Linked DNA regions of Homo sapiens: all the other regions are linked to region 2. Evidence: promoter capture Hi-C in 16 types of primary human blood cells and fetal thymus (Javierre and others, 2016). All regions are on one chromosome and are shown on one strand. The core of a region is centred on a gene start or on the middle of the fragment in contact, and the rest is flanking DNA. Distances in the headings are between cores, read along the strand shown.

Region 1 (3,942 bases), core at 1,234-3,733, 640 kb before region 2:
GGAGTTCAAGACCAGCATAGGAAATAAAGTGAGAACCCATCTCTATAGAAAAATTTCAAAATAAAATAAAAATATAGTGAAAGAATTACTAAAAAGTTAAAATGCTACATTAGAAAATTTTCAATGCAAAAGGAAGCAGTAAGAAAGAAAAGTGGAACAAAAAAGGCATGGGACATACAAGAAATAATTACAACTATACCAATAACAGCACTAAATGTGAATCAATGTGAATGTGAATTAAGCAGTCCAATCAAAAGCCAGAGATTGTCATAATGTATAAAAATATATGGTCAAACTATGTGCTGTCTACAGAAGCCACAAATATAAGTAAAAAGATGAAAAAATACATTATCTTGCAAACAGGAACCATAATAAAATGGAATGGCTATACTGATAGGAGACAAAACAGACTTAAAAAAAAGTTACCAGAGATAAGGAGAAACATTTTATAATGAAAAAATAATAAAAGGATAAGCCCATCAGGAAGACATAATACTTATACATATATTTGCGCCTAATAGCAGAGGCACCAAAACATATGAATCAAAAACTGACAGAAATAAAGGGAGAAACTGACAATTCCACAATAATGATTGAAGATGTCAATAACCCACTTTCAATAATGGATGTAACAATTAATGAAGATCAATAAGAAAAAAAGGAAGACTTGAAAAACACTATAAACCAAATAGACCTAACAGATATCTATAGAACACACCACCCAGTAACAACAGAATATACATCCTTCTCAAGTTCAAATGTAACATTCTCCAGGACAGACCACATGCTAGGCTATAAAACAAACTTCAGTAAACTTAGAAGGATAGGCATGATACAAAGTATGTTCTCTGACCACAATGGAATGAAATTAGAAATCAATACTAGGAAAAAAATTGAGACAATCACAGATTTGTGGAAATTAAACAACACACTCCTAAATAATCATGTGTCAAAGAAAAAATCGAAAGGGAAACCAGAAAGTACTCTGAGATGAATGAACATGAAGATACAATATACAATATACAAAAACATATGGGATGCAGCTAAAGCAGTGCTTAGACAGAACTTTACAGTTGTAAATGTCTATATAAAGAGAGAAGAAAGAGCTCAAATAATAACCTAATTTTCCACCTAAGGCACAGCAGGTGGGAAAAACAAATGAAATCTAAAGCAAGTAGAAGAAAGGACATAATAGAGGCTAGAGGAGAAATTAATGAAATCGAGAATAGAAAAACAATATAGAAAATTATAGTCCAATATCCCTAATAGATGCAAAAATCCTTAACAAAATTTTGGCAAGTCAAATCCAACAACGTCTAACAATACAATCGTGTGTTGCTTACCAATGGGGATATGTTCTGAAATATGCATCATTAGACAATTTCCTCATTGTACAAATATCACAGAGTGTACTTACACAAACCTAGACAGTATAGCCTACTACACACCTGGGCTATGTGGTATAGCCTACTGCTCCTAGACTACAAACCTGGACAGTATGTTGCCGTACAGAATACTGTAGGTAACTGTAGCAGAATGGTATTTGTGTATCTAAACATATCTAAATATAGAAAAGGTACAGGAAAAATACAGTATTATAATCTTATGGGACCACCATAATACATGCAGTCCGCTGTCAACCAAAATGTCATTATGCAGTGCCTACTATATATGAAAACAATATTAACAACAACAATAATAATAATAAATCATGACCAAATGGAATTTATCACAGGAATGCAAGGTAGGTTTAATATTCAAAAATCAGGTAATTCATAACATTCACAGAATAAAAAAGAAAATCATATAACTATCTCAACAGATGAAGTAAAGCATTTGACAATATCCAACACCCATCCATGAAAAAAAAACCTCTCAGCAAACAAGCAATAAAAGAAAACTTTCTCAATCTAGTAAGAGGCACCTACAAATAAAGCACAGCTAAGATATCTTGCTTAATAATAAAACAGTGAACACTTTCTGTCAAAAAATGGGACTAAAAGAGAGAGGAGAGAGAGAGACACCATGTTCTTGGACTGAAGTCTCAATATTGTAAATCTGTCAGTTTTCCACAAATTGATCTATAGTTTTAGTGTAACCCTAATCAAAATCCTATCAAGCTTTTTTTTTTGGTAGAAGTTGGCAGTTTGATATTAAAATGCATATAAGTATATAAAGTACCTACAGTAGCCAAAGAAGTCTTAAAAAGTAAGTAGTATAAAATTGGAGAACTTACTCTACAGACTTTAAAATTTATTACAAAGCTACAGTAATTAAGATAGTGTGGTATTAGTGTAAGGGTAGAAGAATACTTGAATGGAACAGAATAGAGTAGAATGGAGAGTCTGGAAATAGATCCAATATGTATATAGTGGACTTTTTACTAAGTTGCTAATGCAATTCAATGTGGAAAGAAAAGTCTCTGCAACAAATGATGATGGATCAATTAGACATCTGTATGGAAAAAAATAATAACGCATACACAACAATTAATTCAAGGTAGACAACAGATTTAAATGTAAATACTAAAATTATACATCTCCTAGAAGAAAATATAGGAGAGTATCTTTGTAATCTCGTGCAAAATTTCTTAAACAGAACACAGCAAGCACTAAATATGAAAGAAAAAATGATAAAACTGGTCCTCTTCAAAGTTAAAGCTACTGCTCATCAAAGTACTGTTAAGAACACAAAAAGGCAAGCCACCTACTAAAAAAAATATATGCAATACATATACTGAAAAAATGACTTATAAAGAACACAAACAAAACAATATTCTTTAAAAATAATCCAACAAAAATGGGCAAAACACAGACATTTCATCAAGAGAATATATGAAAGCTTAATAACAAAACTAAAAGTTGCTCAATATCATTGTCTAGGGACATACATTTTAAAACCACAAAGAGATTCCACTACAAACCAACAAGAATGGCTAAATTTATAAAGACTAATGACACTGAGCAACCACATTGCTCATATATCACTAGCGAGGATGTAAAACAGTACAGTTACTAGACACCTACCTCTTGATCCAACAATTCCACTCCTTGTTATTTAACTGAAAGAAATGAAAGATATGTCTATAAAAAGATAAAAAATATATACCAGCAAGAGAACAGATGAATAAAATATGGTACATCCTCACAACGGAGTACTACTCCCCAATAAAAAGAAATGAACTACTGATACATGCAAGAATGTGGATGAATCTAAATAACATTCCTCTTTGGCATGAGTCATATGAAAGGTCAGTTGTTTCCTTTGGTTGAAGAGAATATAATTACAGAGTTTTAGAAAAGGTAGAGATGTCTTAAAGTGGCTGTAATTCATCTGCTTTTACTCACTGCAGAGAGAAAATAGAGGAACTCTTAGGGCAGAGGAAATCTTAGGAATTGTAAGCTAATTTCTGGCAAGGACTCTTAGAGCAGAAGGGTCATTGGATACGGTAACTTAATGTTCACCCTCGGCTTAATTGTAAGTGGATACTAGCGAAGAAGAGCAAGGACAAGGGATGTAAGCCAGACCCTTGGAAGGGCCTTTACTCTAAGTTAAAATAAATGAGTTGTCACACAAGAATGGTAGAAGAGATATCTGTACATTACAGAAGGGTTGAAATATACCAATAATTAGGCTTTAGCAAAATATATCTCCCAGTTTAGTATTCTTATATATGTTACCTATAAAAACTCTTTACTTCATTGTTTATTGTTATTTTAAATAAGATTTTCAGTTTTCAGTATATCTCAAAGAGAACCAGTGGAAAATGCATTATGCTGATCCAAATCTTAGATTAAGGCGAGTTTCAAGTTTCAACCACTGACCACATCATCGGAGCACCACCACTTAACAGGTGGCCACTTAATTAACTTACAAGTAACTGAATTGACAGTTGTTTCCAAAATTTTGCTATTAGAAGAAATGTTAAATGTACACTCTTGA
Region 2 (3,940 bases), core at 472-2,971:
CAGATGCTTTCAAAGCATCAAGTCCCGGGGGTTTGGATGAGTCAGGAACCATCTTGCAGGGTTGGCTCATGACAGAGCCACTGACAGTAAGTCTGAGGGAGAGCAGAAACCACACAATAGTCTTCACACAGAGGTGCCCGTCAATGTCACCAATGACTCCACATCACTAAAGCTGACAGGCACTTCTCAGACCCTACGTTACTTGACCAATCAGCAGCATTGAACACAGATAATAATTTATTTAAAAAAAACTTGGCCAGGCACGGTGGCTCATGCCTATAATTCCAGCACTTTGGGAGGCCGAGGTGGCCGGATCACAAGGTCAGGAGATTGAGACCATCCTGGCCAATATGGTGAAACCTCGTCTCTACTAAAATACAAAAATTAGCCGGGCGTGGTGGTGGGGGCTTGTAGTCCCAGGTACTCGGCGCGGCTGAGGCAGGGGAATTGCTTGAACCCAGGAGGTGGAGGTTGCGGTGAGCCGAGATCGTGCCACTGCACCTCAGCCTAGTGACAGAGCAAGACTGTCTCAAAAAAAAAAAAAAAAAGAAAAACTTTACACAAGAGGTTGTTTGAGCAAAGAAAATACACATACAGGTAAAACTGTATATACGCTTTTAAAAGTTAGGAAGTAGCTACCCTCAGGGCTGGAGAGAGACATGATGAGGCATGTTGGCAATGTTCTGTTTCTTGATCTGCATGCTGGTCACGTGAATATATTCAGTCTATGAAGATTCATCAAGCTCTACATTTACGTGTGTGTTTCTAATATGTACATTAAGTGTCAATAAAATTCTGGGACTTTTTTAATCTTCCTGGTTATTTCTAATTTCCAAGAAAGAAATACAGTCTTCTTTACCCCCCCCACATACGCACACACACACACACACACACGTGCACACACACAGGTGCGCACACACACACGCACGCACACACGCACACACACATGCACACACACACATGCGCGCACACACACACATGCACACACACTGCTCTTAGTCCTACTCCTGATTGGCTCAATGCTGTTTACCGCACAAATTAGGACCTGATTGTGATTGGCCTTCTGGTTTGGGATGGCTCCAGTACTTGAACTGGGTTTCTGTCTCTCCAGTTCTAATCCTACTGAGTTTCCTTATGTAATGAAAATATTTCACATTTGGGATAAATTCTTAGTATCCTCAACCGCTAAAGATAACAGTAGTTACCTTCCTACGGCCCGGGATCTATGCTAGGCCCACACTGTGCAGTATGGTTTGTCCTCCCATTGGTCCTGCCCATTTTACAGACAGGGAAGCTAAGGCTCAGAGAGGTGAGAAACACTCTCAAGAGTGTGCTCTTTCTGATATTTCCTGTCACACCTCCCAGTGGCTCTTTCTGCAAAAGGCTTCATTCTGTTTAGCAGTTTTCTATGCTTTTCATCTCCAATTAGAAAGCAAAGGCCAGATGGTCTTCTGCCACATGCATCCAAACTACCTGGAAGCTACCTGATTACGAGGGTTACCGGAAGTGAGGGCAAGGATGTTTGTGCTGAAAATCCCAGGTTTGGATCCCTCGTGCTCAGTCCCAAACTGCAGAGGAAACCTCTAATACTCAGGCAAGCCAGGAGAGCTTTGGCAAGAGCCCTGAAATCAGACCCGGCCAGCATGTGTTCCTGAATATCAGAATAGACACTATATTTACCCTGACAGCCTTTTAGTGCAACTGAAAGCTATAAATAACCATTAGGGCCCAAGCAAGTGGCCTTAACACATGGATTTTCTTCCAAAAATGCAGACCCATTTTAATTAAGTTTGTAATTAACCACTGGGGAGGGCAGGCCCCCTGGATTCGGTCTGCTTTCGGAGACACTGTGAGTAACTTCCTATTTGTTGAACATTTGGGGATTAGCACGCCCACTGGGTGTTCAGCTTGGAGGCTTGCACAGAGCTGAGCTCCCTGCAGCCTTGGGCCTCCCCCTGCCCTGGGAGTCCTGATCAGCGTCTCTTTGCAAAGCCAATCCCCTTTTACTCCGTTGTCCCCCAGAACAAGATGGGAGTCATGGCCATGCTGATGCTCCCCCTGCTGCTGCTGGGAATCAGCGGCCTCCTCTTCATTTACCAAGAGGTGTCCAGGCTGTGGTCAAAGTCAGCTGTGCAGAACAAAGTGGTGGTGATCACCGATGCCATCTCAGGACTGGGCAAGGGTAAGCTGGCTTTGCTCCCACCTGTGCCCATTTCTGCCCCCAGGGACTGGCAGGATGGCAGGGTGGCAGGGCGGCAGGGCGCTGTGTGGGCAAACCTGCTCGGTGGGAGGGGATCGATCCTGTGTTCTCTCCCAGCTTCTATCATTAACCAGCAAGTTTCCCATCTTTTGGAGGCTGCAGATTCCTGATAAATGAGGGTGGTGGAATATCTAGGGTTGCAAACTCACAGCCTAAGGGCTAAAACTGGTCTGCAGATGTGATTTGTTTTGGCTTCATGGGGTTTCCAGAAATTTTGAAAATTCAAAGCCTTTAGCTGGGGCAATGTACTGGTTGTGAGCCCAGACTCAGGAGCTGGGTTCAGTTCCTGGCTCCAGCAATGACTAGCTGGTTACTTCACTTCTCTGCCTTAAACTTCTCATCTGTAAGGCGAGGATAACAGCAGTCTCTACCTCATGCTGCCATTGTGAGGAATAAACGAGTTCATAGATGGATAGCACTTAGAACAGTACCTGGAGCTACAGTGGATATCACTCAAGGGTTAGTAATGATGATCATGAACACATATAGGCAAAACATGCCCACGCTAGTGGGCCACACACCCCACCCATCCCTATTGCATCACACTTGGCCTGATTCTTTCAATCATTACACTTTCTGGCATTGAAGGCATTTGCATTTGCAACTCCTGAATTATATCACCTCAGAGAGGCCCTTCTGCTGGTGACATCTATGACATGAGGGGCCGTAATTGTCCTTAAGTTTGCAAGATTCTGACTCTATCCTTCCAGACAATGGTAGTACAACTTTATATGTTACATAGTTAGTGCAACTTTTGCTGTTGTTTTTATTATTTTTAATAGAGCATAGATCCCACACAGCCAAACATTCATTAGTAACTCAGTAAGTGTCCACTGAGTCCACTATGTCCTGAGCATTGCCCCGAGAGTCCCTCTGGGGGGCTGGGCACTTACTCTCATAGTGCTGCCATCGTGAGAACGTTTGTAACCTCCCTGAGAATTTTCTCAGAGCCTGCTGCTTAGCCTCTTCGGCATCCCAATGGGAGCCAATCTGCACGCTTTGAGGATGGCTTAGTTTTCAGTGGGTGATCGACCCAGGTGCATCTTGTTAAGATAAAAAACAAAGCATAAGGCAGATAGACTAGGCTCTCTAAGTGGCCCCTAGATGAGTCTCACACACAATTCCCAGAGAGGATATCCTGTATCAAAAGGGAGCGAGGTACACAAACTCAAACTCCTTCTTCAAGGGCAAGCCAGGGCACACACATCTGTCAATCAGACCAGACAAAAGACAACAGGGAGTGTGCCGCCCTGGAGAGCTGGAAAAGAGATGCCCACCTAAAGCTATTCAGAACAGAAGGCTTTGCGAAAAATTTGCTCTCCAAATAGCGCACCTTTGTCTGGCATTGCACCAGGCTGCTAACATGCGATCCCTGATACGGCCTCTACCCTGGAGCCTGTCCTGACACCTTAATTGCTCCTTCCTCTTGAATGGTCCTTGTGGACCAGCTTCTTAACTGGCCCCTTGTAAGTGCACACCACATTAGTGTATTTCTCATGCTGTATCTGTGTGTTTCTCAGTGGGTCCACTAGATACAGGCTTCCTGGTGCTGGAGCCTGTGTTTTGTTCACCCAGGCAGCCTCAGCACCTAGCTCAATGCTTGGTTGACATCCTCAGAAAATGTGTATTTAATGAATAACCTCTAAAAGTGACATGTGATCAGGGAAGGCCCTCATTTGG
Region 3 (3,969 bases), core at 685-3,184, 520 kb before region 2:
GGACGGGCCCCAGCCTGCCAGGCGGCTCTGGCCTCACTCTGGGTCTCCCCTGCAGGACTCCCAGCTGCATCTCGATGACGCCCTGAGGAGCAATGAGGACCTCAAGGAGCAGCTGGCCATCGTGGAGCGCAGGAATGGCCTCCTGCTGGAGGAGCTGGAGGAAATGAAGGTGGCCCTGGAACAGACGGAGCGGACCCGCAGGCTGTCAGAGCAGGAGCTGCTGGACGCCAGCGACCGCGTGCAGCTCCTGCACTCCCAGGTGCGTCGGCCCTCACTCCTCCGCTGAAGGTCCACCCTGGGGCAGATAGCGCCTCCTGCACCGTGCAGCTGCTTCCGCTATCCCTCCACTCAGGGCCCACGCCGTGGGAAGGAGCACCCGGTTTCTCCCAGACTAGTGGTCAAGACAAATTTTCTTTTAAGCTTGCTTCTTGGAATAACTGACTCTTGATTGACAGATTTCTGAGCTTTCTCTCATCCAAACATTAAACATCTTGCACGTTGTGGGGAAATCAGAGCAACGAAGGATTAATTATTACGTAAGGCACCTGGAAGTACTATTTAAGTGGAAACCTTAGAATATTAAGATTTTATTTCAAAATAATTATTTTTGACCCGGCTCAGCGCCACACCTATAATCCCAGCACTTTGGGAGGCCAAGGTGGGAGGTTTGCTTTAGCCCAGGAGTTGAAGCTGCAATGAACTATGATCATGCCACTGCACTCCAGCCTGGGCAACAGAGGGAGACCCTGCCAAAAAAATAAACAAACAAACAACAACAACAAAAACACAAAATAATTATTTTTATAAAAGTTTTTAAAACTCCTTTGTTTAAAAAAATAGAAAAAACAAGTAAATACATGGAAGAAAAAAGTCAAGCATATTATTAACATTCTGGGGTCTCTCATTCTTAGGCCCATTGTGAATTATATAAATATTATATTTTTGCCTCTAATCCCAGGAATTTGGGATTGTTTGATCTCAGGAGTCTGAGACCAGCGTGGGCAATATGGCAAAACCTTGTCTCTACAAAAAAAAAAAAAAAAAAAAAAGTTTTAATTAAAAATAAATACATATATATATAGTCAAAGTATGAGCAATCTTTTGCAACCTCTTTTTTGAATTTAACAATCATGAACATATTTTGACATCTTTTTTTTTTTTTTTTGAGACAGAGCAGAGTCTCTTTCTGTCGCCAGGCTGGAGTGCAGTGGTGCGATCTCAGTTCACTGCAATCTCTGCCTCCTAGGTTCAAGCGATTCTCCTGCCTCAGCCTCCTGAGTAGCTGGGATTACAGGTGCTTGTCACCACACCCAGCTAATTTTTGTATTTTTGTAGAGACGGGGTTTCACCATGTTGGCCAGGATTGTCTCGATCTCCTGACTTCAGGTGATCCGCCCGCCTCAGCCTCCCAAAGCTCTGGGATTACAGGCATGAGCCACTGTGCCCAGCTTCGACATCTTTAAATAGTCTTCTATATGATTTTTAATGACAGAAAAGTAGGCTATTCTACTTGTATATTATGGCCCTTTCATTTAATCAGTCTTCTGTGGTTATTTTAGATTGTTCTCAATAAAAATTTTACTTTTAGAAAGACTATTTTGATGAACTTCCTCATAACTAAATTTTCATATACTTCTATGATTACTATAATCTTAATATTTCTAGAAGTAAATAAATTTCTAAAAATGAAATTTCAAGGTCCAAACAGCAAAAGTATTTGTAATATAAATTGTTCTTTAACAAGGTTGTCCCAATTTTTATTTCCACTGGGGAAACGTGTGAGAGTTCTCTTCTATAAATTCTCAAATACTCTAGCTCTTATTTTAAAAATCTTCACCAATTTTATTGCTGAAACATACCTCACTGAGTTTTTAGTATTTTTTTTATTGCTAATGAGGTGGAACATTTTATCACATTTGTTGGCCATTTGAATTTCTTCTAGTATTTTACCCATTTGTAGTTTTTGCCCTTTTTTTAATTGATTTGCCTTATTTGTATGTTAAGAAAGGGAATATTTTCTTCTGTAATGTACATTGCAAATGTTTTCCAGTTTGTCGTCACCCCTTACAATTCTATTTATGGCATATTTTGATTATTTAAATTATTTTTCATTTCATATAGTATGTCTATCATCATTTCCTTGTTCCAAGACTTTTTACTGAATAATCTATCCATCCTCAAATATTTGAAATTCTACTTTTATCATTTACTGAATTCTTTCATGTACAATTCTTGGGTCTGTTTCAGGACTTTCTGTTCAGTTAAGAATAAAGAAAGAATGTACAGTACTGTACCCAGCAGGTCACCCATGTGAAAAATAAGAAATGGAACAGGATCACAATTTACTTCCCTCCCCAGCCAACCCTCTCCCAATTTTTTTAAGCGCCCCAATAGAACCCACACCCCTGATATCTAATTCTTCTTGTAGAACACAAGCCTGATAAATACCAAGAAAAAACTGGAGGCTGACATAGCTCAGTGCCAGGCAGAGGTGGAGAACTCGATCCAGGAGTCCAGGAACGCAGAGGAGAAGGCCAAGAAGGCCATCACGGATGTGAGCTCTGTTCTTCCTTTTCAGAGATGGGGTTTGGAACTGAGAAAGTGGGGCCTCTGAGCCAGGGTGTGGCAAGTATGTTTCATCTCTTATGACAACAATCGGTTAGTGGTGGCTTCCCAGACAGATGTAATGAGGTACAGTCTCAGCAGTGGCAAAGTGGGAGGGGAGGCTGTGGGGAATCAGCAATGACTGGCCCCAGTCAGACAGGGGAGGCTCAGCACCATGATCCCAGCCTTCGCCTCTTCTGCAAGCTCTGGGTAGGGATGGGCGGACAGGGCCTCTGATGTGTCCTGTGAACTTAACCAGGCTGCCATGATGGCTGAGGAGCTAAAGAAGGAACAGGACACCAGCGCCCACCTGGAGCGGATGAAGAAGAACCTGGAGCAGACGGTGAAGGACCTGCAGCACCGTCTAGATGAGGCTGAACAACTGGCGCTGAAGGGCGGGAAGAAGCAGATCCAGAAACTGGAGAACCGGGTAGAGTTTTTGAGAGGACTGTTACTCTGAAAGTGACAGCCTCGGACAGAACCACAGTCCAGAAACTGAGATGGTGGGAAAAGGCCACTGAATGAATAGATTGCAAATTCAGTTTCAGGACTGCTTGAAAAATTCCCTGTGAGCTTCATTTCTCACCTCTTTCTGTTTCACCTGTTCCTATGCCCCAAAACACACACACACACACACACACACACACACACACACACACACACACACATCTATTTTGGTATGCTCACACCTCAGTAAATGTAATATAATGATGTATGTTAATGTTCACATTCCATTTGCTATGCAGATTCAGATGCACGCACATACATGGAAAAAACTATTAACATATACTCTACAGTCATAAAATTACTCATTTTGATGCATTTACATTTTGGACCAAGCTTCACTTTGATCAACACAGCCCATCCTACATAAAATCTGCAGTTTCCGTTTTCTCCCAATCTCAGGTTTCCTTCCCTCCCCAGCTTTTCTCATCTGTCAGTGCAGGCTGCAATTCTGGCACAGGTATGTCTCTTGCTCCAGCCCCAAAAGAGGGCGATCGGGGCTTCTTCCTTTAGCTTGATGCACCAGCAAAGTTCAACCCCCCGACACCTGGACATCCCTGCTCTTTCTTTATCTGGGAGCGTATCCTGCAGTTATTATTCAGTTTCTTTGCTGACTGTTCCCTTTGTTTCCTGTCTCCCTTGCTTTTCCTTTTAGACCCATGTGGTTTATTTCAATCATTTTAAAATGGGCTCCACTAGTGGTTGACATTTTGGAGGAGGGCTCTGCGGAGGAGGCTGTTCGAATGTCTCTTGTCCCAGGGAGACAGGAAATGAAAGAGAGGGAGGAAAGGAGGATGAGGAGGAGGAAAAGAGAAGGAGACAACTTTTCCCAGCAGGAAAGCCTCCAAATACTGTCATTCT

The links. The method cuts DNA at HindIII sites, captures the fragments that hold promoters and counts their contacts. A CHiCAGO score of 5 or more calls a contact.
Region 1: a fragment that was not itself captured here is called in contact with the fragment with the promoter of DHRS7C in region 2 in 1 of 17 cell types (monocytes); the score reaches 5.0 in monocytes.
Region 3: a contact is called between a fragment that was not itself captured here and the fragment with the promoter of DHRS7C in region 2, in 1 of 17 cell types (neutrophils). The highest score is 5.0, in neutrophils.

Annotation. Positions count from the first base shown.
Region 1 is chr17:10,428,860-10,432,801 of GRCh38, reverse strand. The region is part of intron 2 of MYHAS (myosin heavy chain gene cluster antisense RNA); the gene reads right to left. Among named protein-coding and RNA genes, the nearest start is that of MYH8, 8.9 kb to the right of the region's middle. The HindIII fragment of the contact is 721 bases long and covers 2,123-2,843 here.
Region 2 is chr17:9,789,373-9,793,312 of GRCh38, reverse strand. DHRS7C (dehydrogenase/reductase 7C) reads left to right here and starts at 1,721. Exons shown (of 6, transcript NM_001105571.3): 1 at 1,721-2,182. The coding sequence starts at 2,029. The HindIII fragment of the contact is 16,411 bases long and covers 1-3,940 here.
Region 3 is chr17:10,305,524-10,309,492 of GRCh38, reverse strand. It overlaps MYH13 (myosin heavy chain 13), which reads left to right. Exons shown (of 41, transcript NM_003802.3): 35 at 56-259; 36 at 2,429-2,554; 37 at 2,864-3,034. The region is part of intron 1 of LOC107985004 (a long non-coding RNA gene); the gene reads right to left. Among named protein-coding and RNA genes, the nearest start is that of MYH13, 65 kb to the left of the region's middle. RefSeq lists an enhancer at 1-75. The HindIII fragment of the contact is 3,024 bases long and covers 423-3,446 here.